3 separate regions of the Homo sapiens genome follow, and regions 2 and 3 are each linked to region 1. Evidence: promoter capture Hi-C in 16 types of primary human blood cells and fetal thymus (Javierre and others, 2016). All regions are on one chromosome and are shown on one strand. The core of a region is centred on a gene start or on the middle of the fragment in contact, and the rest is flanking DNA. Distances in the headings are between cores, read along the strand shown. Region 1 holds the start of PTGIS (prostaglandin I2 synthase). Region 2 overlaps LOC105372649 (a long non-coding RNA gene). Region 3 has its middle 41 kb from the start of SNORD12.

Evidence for each region. The method cuts DNA at HindIII sites, captures the fragments that hold promoters and counts their contacts. A CHiCAGO score of 5 or more calls a contact.
Region 2: a contact is called between a fragment that was not itself captured here and the fragment with the promoter of PTGIS in region 1, in 3 of 17 cell types (M2 macrophages, M0 macrophages and M1 macrophages). The highest score is 7.0, in M2 macrophages.
Region 3: a contact is called between a fragment that was not itself captured here and the fragment with the promoter of PTGIS in region 1, in 1 of 17 cell types (endothelial precursors). The highest score is 5.4, in endothelial precursors.

The regions. Positions count from the first base shown.
Region 1 is chr20:49,566,718-49,570,115 of GRCh38, reverse strand. PTGIS (prostaglandin I2 synthase) reads left to right here and starts at 1,979. Exons shown (of 10, transcript NM_000961.4): 1 at 1,979-2,073. The coding sequence starts at 2,000. LOC101927486 (a long non-coding RNA gene) reads right to left here and starts at 2,072. Exons shown (of 2, transcript XR_244188.4): 1 at 1,943-2,072. RefSeq lists enhancers at 448-1,062, 1,063-1,679. The HindIII fragment of the contact is 14,656 bases long and covers 1-3,398 here.
Region 2 is chr20:49,342,299-49,346,103 of GRCh38, reverse strand. The region is part of intron 2 of LOC105372649 (a long non-coding RNA gene); the gene reads right to left. Among named protein-coding and RNA genes, the nearest start is that of SNORD12, 64 kb to the right of the region's middle. The HindIII fragment of the contact is 1,677 bases long and covers 466-2,142 here.
Region 3 is chr20:49,319,360-49,323,287 of GRCh38, reverse strand. No RefSeq gene overlaps it. Among named protein-coding and RNA genes, the nearest start is that of SNORD12, 41 kb to the right of the region's middle. RefSeq lists an enhancer at 3,671-3,928. The HindIII fragment of the contact is 548 bases long and covers 1,638-2,185 here.

The sequences.
Region 1 (3,398 bases), core at 730-3,229:
CACAAAGCTGAGGATCGGCCAAGCCCAGCTGTGAACCCCACTGCTAGCAGACAGCCCTTTGGAGCTCCCCAAATTTGGAGAAAATCCTCTGGACCCGTTCTATGGCCTTCTTGGGATTGTTGGCTTCTCTGGCAGATAAGCTGGAAAAATAAACAAGAGGATCAGAAAACTCCTTTTGCCTCCTGCTGTTCTGAATCTGCTGAGGCCACAAGGGGGTCATCCAGCTGCCTCGACAGCCAACATTAAGCAGGCAAATGAATGAATCTTGAGTATGATAGCAGGACATGTGAAGTACTGCCAGAAAAAAAAACTATCAAAAAAACAAAGAAACAAAAATCAGTAAGAGGAGATGACTGTTTTAGACCAGGTGGCCAAAGACAGCTTCTCTGCAGTGACAGCTGAGCAGAGATAGAGGCACCGGGGAGGTGGTGGAAAGAGCAGGCTGTGCGAAGAATGCTCCGAACAGAGGGAACAGCACGTGCAAAGGCCCTGCAGTGGGACCTCTAGGGAAAGATGGGGAGATCAGTGTGGCTGGAGCAGAGTGGGTGAGGGAGAGAGTCGGGGGCATAGGGTCAGGCAGGTAAAGGTGAGAAGGGGCGGATCATGCTGGTTCTCGAAGGGCCTTGTCAGGACCCTGGCTGATAAGGATGGAAGCCAGGAGACCAGGAGGAGCAACAGCTTCTCCAGAGCTCTGCTGGGACTATGGAATGAAACGTGCCTAAGCTCACCCGGCACTGAATGGGTGGATACAGGACTAGAACAAGACCTCCTGGGTCTTACCTCCAGGTTCAGCCCATGGTTTCATAAAACTTAGTGTGCCAAGCACTCAACAGTTTGTGATTCCTTTTAGTGTCAAGCTCTCATCACTTCCTCACAACAGCCCCAGAGGTAAGCACAACTCTGCCCTCCCTGTTTCCAGATAATGAGGTGAGCTCAGAGAGGTTGAGCTACCTGCCCAACGCTTCCCAGGGTGGGAATGGGGATGGTGGGGGCAGGGGCGTGGAGTGAGGCTGGATTGACCCCCAGTTCTCATCAGCACCCTGGGGTGGTACATTGCAGAGCCGCGGGCACAGGGGGCTGGCACCCCAAGCACCAGGTAGCGATGACAATGGCCACCACATCCGGAGGCCCTAACGTGCACCAGGTAGAGGGTGCATACTTCACGGGCACTATCTGTCCCCAAAGCAGGTGAGGATGAGGGGACTCCCTGAGACACCCTTGTACCCCCTGCCCAGTAGTTACTGAAGATACTATAGGGTGCGATATAATCCAGACCAGCCCTCCCAGCCCAGACCACAGAATGGAAAACTCCAGGTCCCCAGCACGCCTGGGGTGGGGGATGGGGTGAGGAGGAGCCTTGGGGGGTTTCCTCTGTCTAGGTGGAATGTGGAATGTGGTGGGAAAGCTCCTCCTGACCCCCTTACACTCCTCCTCCATGTTCGTCCCCTCCCACCACATTTTCTCCTCCCACTGTGCCCCCTCCTCCCCATACCTCCTTGGCTGTTTCCCCATCGTCCCGCCGTCTTCCCACATTCCCTCCTCTTCCCTTCCCCAAAAGTCCTCTCCCATCTTCCCCATCCCTCTTCCCTCCCCGCATATAATCTCTTCCTTCCTGTAAATCCTCTCCCTCTCCCCTCCCTTCCATCACCCCCCAGTCCACCACATCCCCCTCAGTCCCCCATCTATCTCCTTTCCCCTTGATCACTCCCCAGCCCACCACATCCCTTCCGCCCCCTCCCCCTCCCCCTCCTTCTCCCCTCCCCTCCCTCCCACATTTTCCATCAGGCCTGAGCTGGGGGGAGCAGGGTTTCTAACAGAGCGCCCCGGTCCGACCCCTGCGGACCTCGGAGGGCCCCATCCCCCACCCCCCCCACCCCGCCCCAAAGCGGGCTGGGGTGGGCGGAGTGGGAGGGGCGCGCCGGGTGGGGGCGGGGAACTTTACCTGGGAGTGGGCCAGGCCGCCAGCCCCGCCAGCCCCGCCAGCCCCGCCAGCCCCGCGATGGCTTGGGCCGCGCTCCTCGGCCTCCTGGCCGCACTGTTGCTGCTGCTGCTACTGAGCCGCCGCCGCACGCGGTGAGTGTCCTGCTCCGCTCGGCCCCGCCAGACAAAGGGGGCGGCTCCCGCCCGGGCTGCAGCCCAAGGGTCTCGGAGCCCGCGGCCGGCCCGGCCCGAGTCCCGCTCCAGTATCCCGGGCAAGGCGAGACCCTCGGAGGTGGGAGTCCCGGGGCCCCGCACGTGGGTGAGGGGGCCAGGCCGTGCTCCCCCTGCCAAGAAGGTGCAAGGTGGGAAGGTGCGGGGTCCGGTAGGTCCCCCGGGGCGAATCGCCCACCGCGACAAGTCCGAGTCTGGCCCTTAGCGCGACGGCAGGGACCTAGGAGGGGGTTTCAGGTGAGGACCGAGGGTTTGTGGGTGGGGAGCCGTGCGGGGACAGCCTCTGCGTGGCCCGGGTGGAAGAAGCGCTCTCCACTCTCCAGCCTCTGCCTGCACCTGGCACCCACCTACGCGCTGTCAAACCCTGCCTTGCTTTCGGCAGTCCTATAGGGATAGCCTCGCTCCTCAACCCATTACACAGATGGGAGTGTTGAGCCAGCGGAGTGTAGAGCCCCTGGGGGATGTCTTGATCATGCCCTGGAACCACCCACCCCGGGATTCCCCGTCTGGAAGACGGGGGTCGGTGGGCTTAGTAATTTCATTTGCCAGGGAGAAACTGAGGCCTATGAAGTCTCTACCTTCCCCTGAGGTCCCACAGCCTGGACAGAACGGAGCCAGGGTCAGATGTCACAGCCTCCTGGTCCCAAAGGTTTTCCAGCTCCATTGAGCATCTGTGATTTAGGAGAAAAAGTAAAGACAGCCTCAAATCAAGGAGATAGCTGTAGCTCTCCTTTTCATAAAATATTTTTTAAGTTAACTTGAATTGCATAAGGAATAGCTGAATACATTCGACTTAACACAAATATTTATCCTGTTATAGGTAAGACCGAAGCCCCTTAACCCTCCCCCAGCCCCTGAAGTCTAGTCCTCTCTCCCTCTCTGGGCCTCTCCTGTTGCTGAGTCTGGGTAGAACCTTCCATATTTAAAAAAATATACTTTTTATTTGAGACTAGTTTGGGATTTACAGAAAGTTGCAAAGATAGTACAAAAAGTTCCTGTATTTCTCTCACCCCGTTTTCCCTATTGTTAACATCTTACATTGTTATGGGACATTTGTCGCCACTAAAAACCAACACTGGTCCGTTACTCTTAACTAAACTTCAAACTTCACGGGATTTTATCCAGTTTCCCATTACTGTCCTCTTTTGTTCCAGGATCCGGCCCCAAGTTACCACATTGCCTTTAGTTTTCATACCTCCTCAGTCTCCCAGATGTTTTAAAAATTACTCTTACATAAAAATTACTCT
Region 2 (3,805 bases), core at 55-2,554, 220 kb after region 1:
TAGCAACACTTTATAAAGCACTCACCACGTGCCAGGCACCGTAGGCATTAATGCATTTAAACCTCACAAGATGGTGCTCTTGTGAATCCCATTTTCCAGATGAGGAAATTGGGACTCAGGGAAGTAAAGCCACTTGGTCACTGCTAATACTGGGGTAGCAAGGGGTGAGGGAGAACAAATGGAAAAAATAAGAGGAAGACCAAGGCAAGAGGAAAAGAAGCCACCCCAAGCCTGTCTCCCAAGCTGGGCTGCACTCAGGTCTCTGCCAAGACCGCGTGGAATTTGGGGAGGCCGCCACACCCCGGAGAAGGGCCCGTGGCATTTCTGAATCACGGTGCCATCCGCCCCGGTTTGGCTTCTCTCCGGCGATCCAATTACTAAATGTAGCCGCATTCTTTAAAAATGTCTTTCCTCTTATGTAATGCAATAGTGACAAACGCCAAACAGATGGTGCTGTGACAAGCTTTTTAAAAGTTGATTAGGAGCTCATCTTTCAAAATTAATGTATGGGCATTTAAACAAGCTCCAGCCGGCCACAAAACTCAATTGAGAATCCATATGGGACAAATCGCTTGATGGACTGGCTACATTGACCACCTTCCCGGCCAGGGTTTGACGTGAAAAGTTTGGGGAATGGTAATAGCACGGGTCACGTTGACTTGTGAGCAATGGGCAAAAGATACCTGGTTTGGGCAGAGGGGAAAAATGCCTTGGGCCTCCCAAAAGCCCAGGAGGCTGGAGCCTCCTCAATCTATTTACCAAGACTTTTTTATTTTTTTTTTCAAAATTGTACATTGTCTTCGAGAGAGCGGACCGTCTCTCCCTGCCTCGGGAGGGAAGCGGGTTAGTCATAAACTATGTCAGATGCTGCCAGCGAGCAGCTTCACCCCCACCCTTTCTTCCTCAGTGTTCAGGGATGAGATCATTTCATTTGGAGCCAATTATAGACGGAGAATGCTGGGGATGTGCAAAGAAACCTCCTCAGAACCCTTCCCTCCCACATCACAGGCTGTACCCTGCCAGGATGGGCAAGAACAAGAGGCCAGGCGCCCAGCCCCAGGTTCGACCCCAGGGTTTCTGAAGGCCATGCATTCCTAAGCCTTAGCTTGGACCTGTCAAGCTAGGATGCCAGGCTGTTGGCTAGACAAACCCTGTTGGCCTCAAAAGTTCAGGGCTGTATGGGCCCTTAAAGATCATCGCTGTTCAGATGAGGAAACTGAGGCTCAGAGAAGGGAAGTGGCTTGCTCAAGGTCCCATGGCAAGTTGGCAGCAAAGCCACAGAGATGAATGGTGGCTTCTCTGCCACCCACGAGGAGGATGTCTGTGGCCTGAAACATTCCCAGCATCCATTCCCATTGCTTCTGATACAAGGGTCCCGAGTTTTCCTTCTTGGTTCACGTGGTTCAAGTAGGACTGACCATGCCTCCACTTCCAAGGATATGCACCTGACCCAGCACCGGCCAATCAAAACAGTGCATTCCCCCACCCTCCCCCCACCCATTGATTCAGGAATATGAACCAGGGGTGTGAGATGAGCCTGGTCAATAAGCAGCAACCCCAGACCTGTAGCTGAGACTGAGACCATTGGAAGTGAGATGCTGTCTTCAGCTTTGTGATGCAGAATGGGGAGGAAGAAAGCCTAGAGCTGCTGGCAGCCATTAGTGCCACCACAGGATGCCTACCTAAGCACAAAGTCAACAGAGAGGAGAGCAAGGCCAAAAGAAAGTGAGGCAGTGGCTTCAACCTTTAAACCCCTGGATCCAGCCATACCTGAAGGCAGTCTTATCCTGGATATTTTCTTTACATGAGTCAATAAATTATCCTTGCTCGAGCTGGTTGAGTTCTTTCACTCATTTCCCAAAGGGCCTTGACTGATAGACTTGGAGGTCCTCAGGTGTAGGACAAGGCTCCAAAACATAACACTGAGTGCTCCTCGTCTCCATCCCCAACACATTGCTGGCCTCTTCCCCAGAAGATTCCCTAAGTCCCTGCACAAGTTCCAGCAACACACTCCAAAGGGAGTACCCAAGGTAAATGTCCCATTTTATGGTACGCAAGAAACGGCTCTGCCTTCTGGGTACCCATAACCAAGCTGCTCCCCACCACAGCCTCTGCCTTCCTATTTCGTCAAGAGCACAAGCTTTGCAGTCCAGTTCAAAGCCCAGCTCCAACGTTTCCTAATCATGAGAACTTGGACAAGTCATGTGACTATCCTGAAGCTCAGTTTCCCATCTGTGAATGGGGAAAAGATCACCTACTTTACACGATCCATGAGAGGATTAAAACAGGCACCACCACTATTTAGAGGCTGAAAAAATGGGTAGCTACCAAGAGCTACAAAAAGTCTATCCTGCAGAGCTGGGGCAATTGTCGAGCACGGTGTGTTTGGGAAGACAGCACCTACACACATCAAATGATTTCCACCTAAAACAGCTTCCTGCAGCCAAAACAAGTGTACGGGTAGAGGCAGGGAATGCTGGCTGTGGGGTACGAGTCGGACAGCCCCTTGCTGGCCTCGTGGCCATCTGCTTCTTTCTCCCCTCCGCTGCCCCTTGGCCCAGGATTCTCGCCCCAGACCAGCACACACAGGTGCTACTGACATTCTCACCCAGTGATTCATTCACACTCCCAGAGAGCAGCAACAGACAGTGATTCCCAGGAGCGTCCAGAGTCCTGATTTAGGAAGGAGGATAGAGTAGCAGTAACATTTGAACAAGTTCCTGCCCAGTCCCAAGGACAGCTGAAAGATAAACCTCCTGCTCCAACCCCACCGCAGGGAAGCCTGAACCTGCCCGCTTAGAACCAGGAAGAGATTGAGCTATGATTCCCCCAAAAGGTTCTTTATTCATTACAGCGGCGCTTCCTGAAGCGGGGGACTCACATTTTAGGTCGTTTTACCCGAACCCAGGATGTAGCATTAAATAACTGACTCCAGTACTGATCCAGGCTACAAGATGGGAGAACCTTGAAAACATTCTGCCAAGTGAAAGCAGCTAGTCACGAAAGACCACATATTGTGTGATTCCATTTATATGAAATGTCCGGAATAGGCAAATCCATAAAGACAGAAAAAGATTAGTGATTGCTGAGGGCTAGAGGGGTCGGAGGAAGGAGAGGCTGCTAACGAGTACAGGGTTTCTTTCAGAGGAGGATAAAAATGCTCTAAATTGGACTGTGGTGATGGTTGTACAATTTTTTCTATATACTGAAAAGAATTGAACTGTACACTTTAAATGGGTGAATGGCATGGTATGTGAATTCACTGTTAAAAATGTTTATAACAACTGACTCCTAAAGGAAAAAAATTAGCCTCCTTTTAAGCCTTTTTTTTTTTTTTAATTTATTTTGAGACAGGGTTTCCCTCTGTTGCTCAGGCTGGAGTGCAGTGGCCCGATCTCGGCTCACTGCAACCTCTGCCTCGCAGGCTCAGGTGATCCTCCCACCTCAACCCCCTGAGTAGCTGAGACTACAGGCACCCACTACCACACCCAGCTAATTTTTGTATCTTTTTTTTTTTTTTTAGAGATGGGGTTTTGCCATTTTGCCCAGGCTGGTCTCAAACTCCTGGGCTTAAGCAATCCTCCCACCTAGGCCTCCCAAAGTGCCAAGATTCCAGTATAATTTTTCTAATTTGTCAAGGAGCAAGTCTCCATTGGCTATGAGTGTGTTCTTCCTATCACTCCACACTGGCTGGTTTCTTGTCTGAATCAGGAGAACAGGCTTCATGCTCAGCATCTTGAGCAGGCAACAGTGGACTTCTCTGGTTTCCATTGTATTTATTTTTCTGATTGTCTTTTTTTTTTTT
Region 3 (3,928 bases), core at 662-3,161, 250 kb after region 1:
TCCTTACCATCTGCCCTCCTTATTGTCTACCAAAAGGATTTTCTAGAATACAGTTCTGGCCTGTTCCCTGAAATCCCTCAGTGGTTCCCATCTCCTATTGAGGGGGTTCACGAAGGATCTTTTTTGACAGTGGATCATAGATGGAGACCCCCAAGCTCAGTGGCTAAAAATCTACATTTTCCTGCAACTCATCCACAGTCATTTACCGTGCCCTCCTCCTATTCAACATCTCAGCACACTTTACCCAAAGTTTCCCAAAGCACGTGGTCTCCCACAGCTGAGTAGTACCCTCCCAGCCTCCTTTCCCCCATCTTCTGGGAATACCACCTCAGTTTTCTTCTGAGAAACCAAAACTCCCCACTCTCAATCCACATGGTTTGGACAGGGCTGATCGCACCCTCTCGTTCCTGGTATGAGGCAGGTGACCCCCACATGGCCAGTTGATATATTCCTTCTCCCTGGGTTCAGTGATTGATTGGGTCAGCAATGACCATTTAATCCAAACTGAGCCCATGAGAACCAGCCCTGGGATTTTGGCTGGAACTGGGGAAAAATGCTCTCAATCCATTAAGGATGGCAGTTTACAGCTACTGTCTTTGACCACTAGCTTTGCTACCACTTGGTGACAGCATGCCTGTAAATGAAGTTAACACAAGAAAAGCCGAAGAATGGAAAGAGATAGAGTCCTGATGACATCCTTGGAGCCCCTGGATCCAGTCATGCCTGAAGCTCTGGAATCCCTGGGTTGTTCTTTAGTTACCTAAGCCAATAAATATCCTTGTTAACTTAAGTTAAATTGTGTCACAACCCTAAGAGTACTAAGTCTACAGGAAACACATAAGTGTATATGTAGGGACATCAACCATACAGGGTTGAGATGATATTTAAGAAGTATAGAATACATGGAAACATTCTGTAAATAACTTGGAAAATACAGTGGTGTCTATCTTTCAAGGCCTTACTAATCACTCCAGCCCCACTCTCTCCCTGCCTCCACACCATCCTCACCAATCATTTCCAAGCTTCACCTTGCTCAGACTGAAATTATTTATTCCTTTCCCAACTACCTTGTCTCCCAAAAATAGACAATAAGCTTGAGGGGTACCAGAACTCCAGCCTTGCTTCCATCCCCCAGTGCTTCTAGCTGAATTGGGCACACAGAAGGTGGCCACCAATTGTAATTGAGGCTGGGTGTGGAGGCTCACACTGGTAATTCCAGCACTTTGGGAGGCCAAGGCTGGAGGATAGCTTGAGCCCAGGAGTTTGAGACCAGCCTGGAAAAGATGGTAAAACTCCATCTCTACAAAAAATACAAAAAAAAAAAAAAAAAAAAAAAAAAAAAGCTGGGTGTGGTGGCCCACACCTGTAGTCCCAGCTACTCAGGAGACTGAGGTAGGAGGATCACTTGAGCCTGGGAGGCAGAGGTTGCAGTGAGCCATGATTGCACCACTGCACTCCAGCCTGGGTGACACAGTGAAACCCTGAAAAATAAAAAGAAAGGAAGGAAGAAAGAGAGAGAGAAAAAGAAAAGAAAAGAGAGAAGGAAGGAAAGAAAGAAAAAGAAAAAAAAAGAAAATTTTAATTGAACTAAATGGGGAAGATGTCAAGGGGTCTCCTTACACCTGTAGACTCAAGCTTCCCTCTCCTAACATTCTTGAGTCTCTGCCACCCTTGAGCTGCTATACAATATTGAGATCTGGAGTCAGACTGCTGGAGTGCAAATCCCAGATCTGCTGTTTAAGAGCTGTGCAACCCAGAACACGTCACTTAACCTCTCTGTGCCTTAGTTCCTCATCTGTAAAACAGACATGATAACACTGTTCCATAGCGTTATTATGAGGCTTAAATGAGACAATTTACTTCAAGCACTTAAAATAGTACCTTCCTGACATTTGGTATTTCATAAATATTAGATTTGTTGTTTGCGGATTTTGTTTGTTTTTTAAGTCATCTTCAACATCTCCCTCTATTACAATTGATCACTTAAGGCAGTTGACTTTATCTCCTAAAAATAGCCCATGAAAAAAGCAAATACTTCTCTACATCTTTTGCCTCCTAACTAGTCCCCTCCTGCCTGCTCCCCTGGGAGGTGGAAAGTGAACTTTTCCCTGCGTCTCTTCACAAGACCCTGCTCCAGATAAGGAGGCAGATCCCAAAAGAGCAAAACAAAGGTGAAAGCAAAGCTTTGAGGCTCCTGGTTCCTCCAGCCCCCACTCCGTATAGAAAGGACATCTCTTGGGAGGGGCTAACATTGTGTGATTCTGTGGGTGTCGGTCAGACCATGAGAAAGTATCACTGATGCCTTTGCCTGGACCCATCCTGGGCCCCCACTCCTGCGCTGTGGCAGGGGAGCCCCTGTTGGTGGTGCTAACCTGGGACTTCAGCTCCAATCAGTACAGACCCGCGGCTGCATGAACTCTCTACACAGAAAACCAACCAGTACAAAAGCACCCCCAGGCAGTCCTTCCCCAAATTTAATCTGGAAGGAGTTCTCTTTTGCCTATGGCTTGAGAAGACACCACATCCAAAATTACTTTCTCATCTCACTGCTGCCTGAATTTCCAACGTTGGCCACTCCTGGCAGCAAGGAGCTAGAAGACTCAGAATCAGACCCAGCTCCTCCACTGGCTGGGAATTCTTGACTGCCCAAAGCCCTCTCCTCTCTGAGCCTTGCTTTTCTTGACTGCTAAACAGGGATGTTATTCCATACCTGAACCCCAGAGGGCAGGGAGAATGTATTCAGGTTCCAGGGGACATCCAGCCCAGCTTCTGGGCACAGAGGGATAGGTGATTAATGGATGTTAGGTCCCTTACATTTTTATTTATTTATTTATTTATTTATTTATTTTTGAGACATGATCTCGCTCTGTCACCCAGGCTGGAGTGCAGTGGCATAATCATAGCTCACTGCAGGCTCAACCTCCTGGGCTCAAGTGATTCTCCCACCTCAGTCTCCTGAGTAGCTGGTGCTACAGGCAGTCATCACCATTTGAGGCTAATTTTTTTTTAATTTTTTGTAGAGACTGGGTCTTCCAATATTGCCCAGGCTGGTCTCGAACTCCTGGCCTCAAATGATCCTCCCACAGCCTCCCCAAGTGTTGGGATTACAAGCATGAGCCACTGTGCCCGACCCATTATGCATTTTTTTAAAAGCGCCCTCTCTGTCTTTTAAAACAAATTTCTGAAGGAAGCTCTAGTGATATCACACGGTAGAGGGGCCCAATCAATCACTTTCCTCCCTGACATAGGAAAGTTGGGTCATAACCGTTTTACAGGGTGACAGAATTTAGATTTTTTTTTTGTCTCCAGTGGGTGTGAAAACTTTACTTCTGGGATTTAAAAAGGATAGAGAGCCAGACATGGTGGTGCGTGCCTGTCATCCAGCTACTTGGGAGGCTGAGGCAGAAGAATCGCTTGAGCCCAGGAGTTCGAGGCTGCAGTGAATGATGATCGCACCACGGCACTCCAGCCTGGGCGACAGAGCAAGGCTCCATCTCTAGAAGAAGGGAGTGGGGTGGCGGGGGGGGAGGGGATAGGCAGCGTCCTTCCCACTAATGACTCAACTAAAATAGCCCTTAATAGAGCGCTGTGGGTACCACTCTGGAGGAGCCTTTACCAGGAATGCTTGGACTAGCCCGGTGGCCACGCCCAGCACGCGGACCACAGATGGACTTCACCTGCGTATCTGTCAGGCCCCTCGGCTTCTGGACCCGCCTGCCTGAGTTCTAACCAGCTTGGACACACTAGTTTTGGAATCACTCAGACCGTTCCGCCTCCGCTTTGAGCGTCTTTCCATCCTTGCTCTCCAAGCGTTAGCCCTTTTCTTGGTTTCTCCATGCTCCTTGTCACCTTCTCCATTCGCCTTGTGACCCCTCCGCCCGAAAGAAGCTTGCAACCCCTCCTCCCTCGCAGCTCTCTTGGCCCCGCG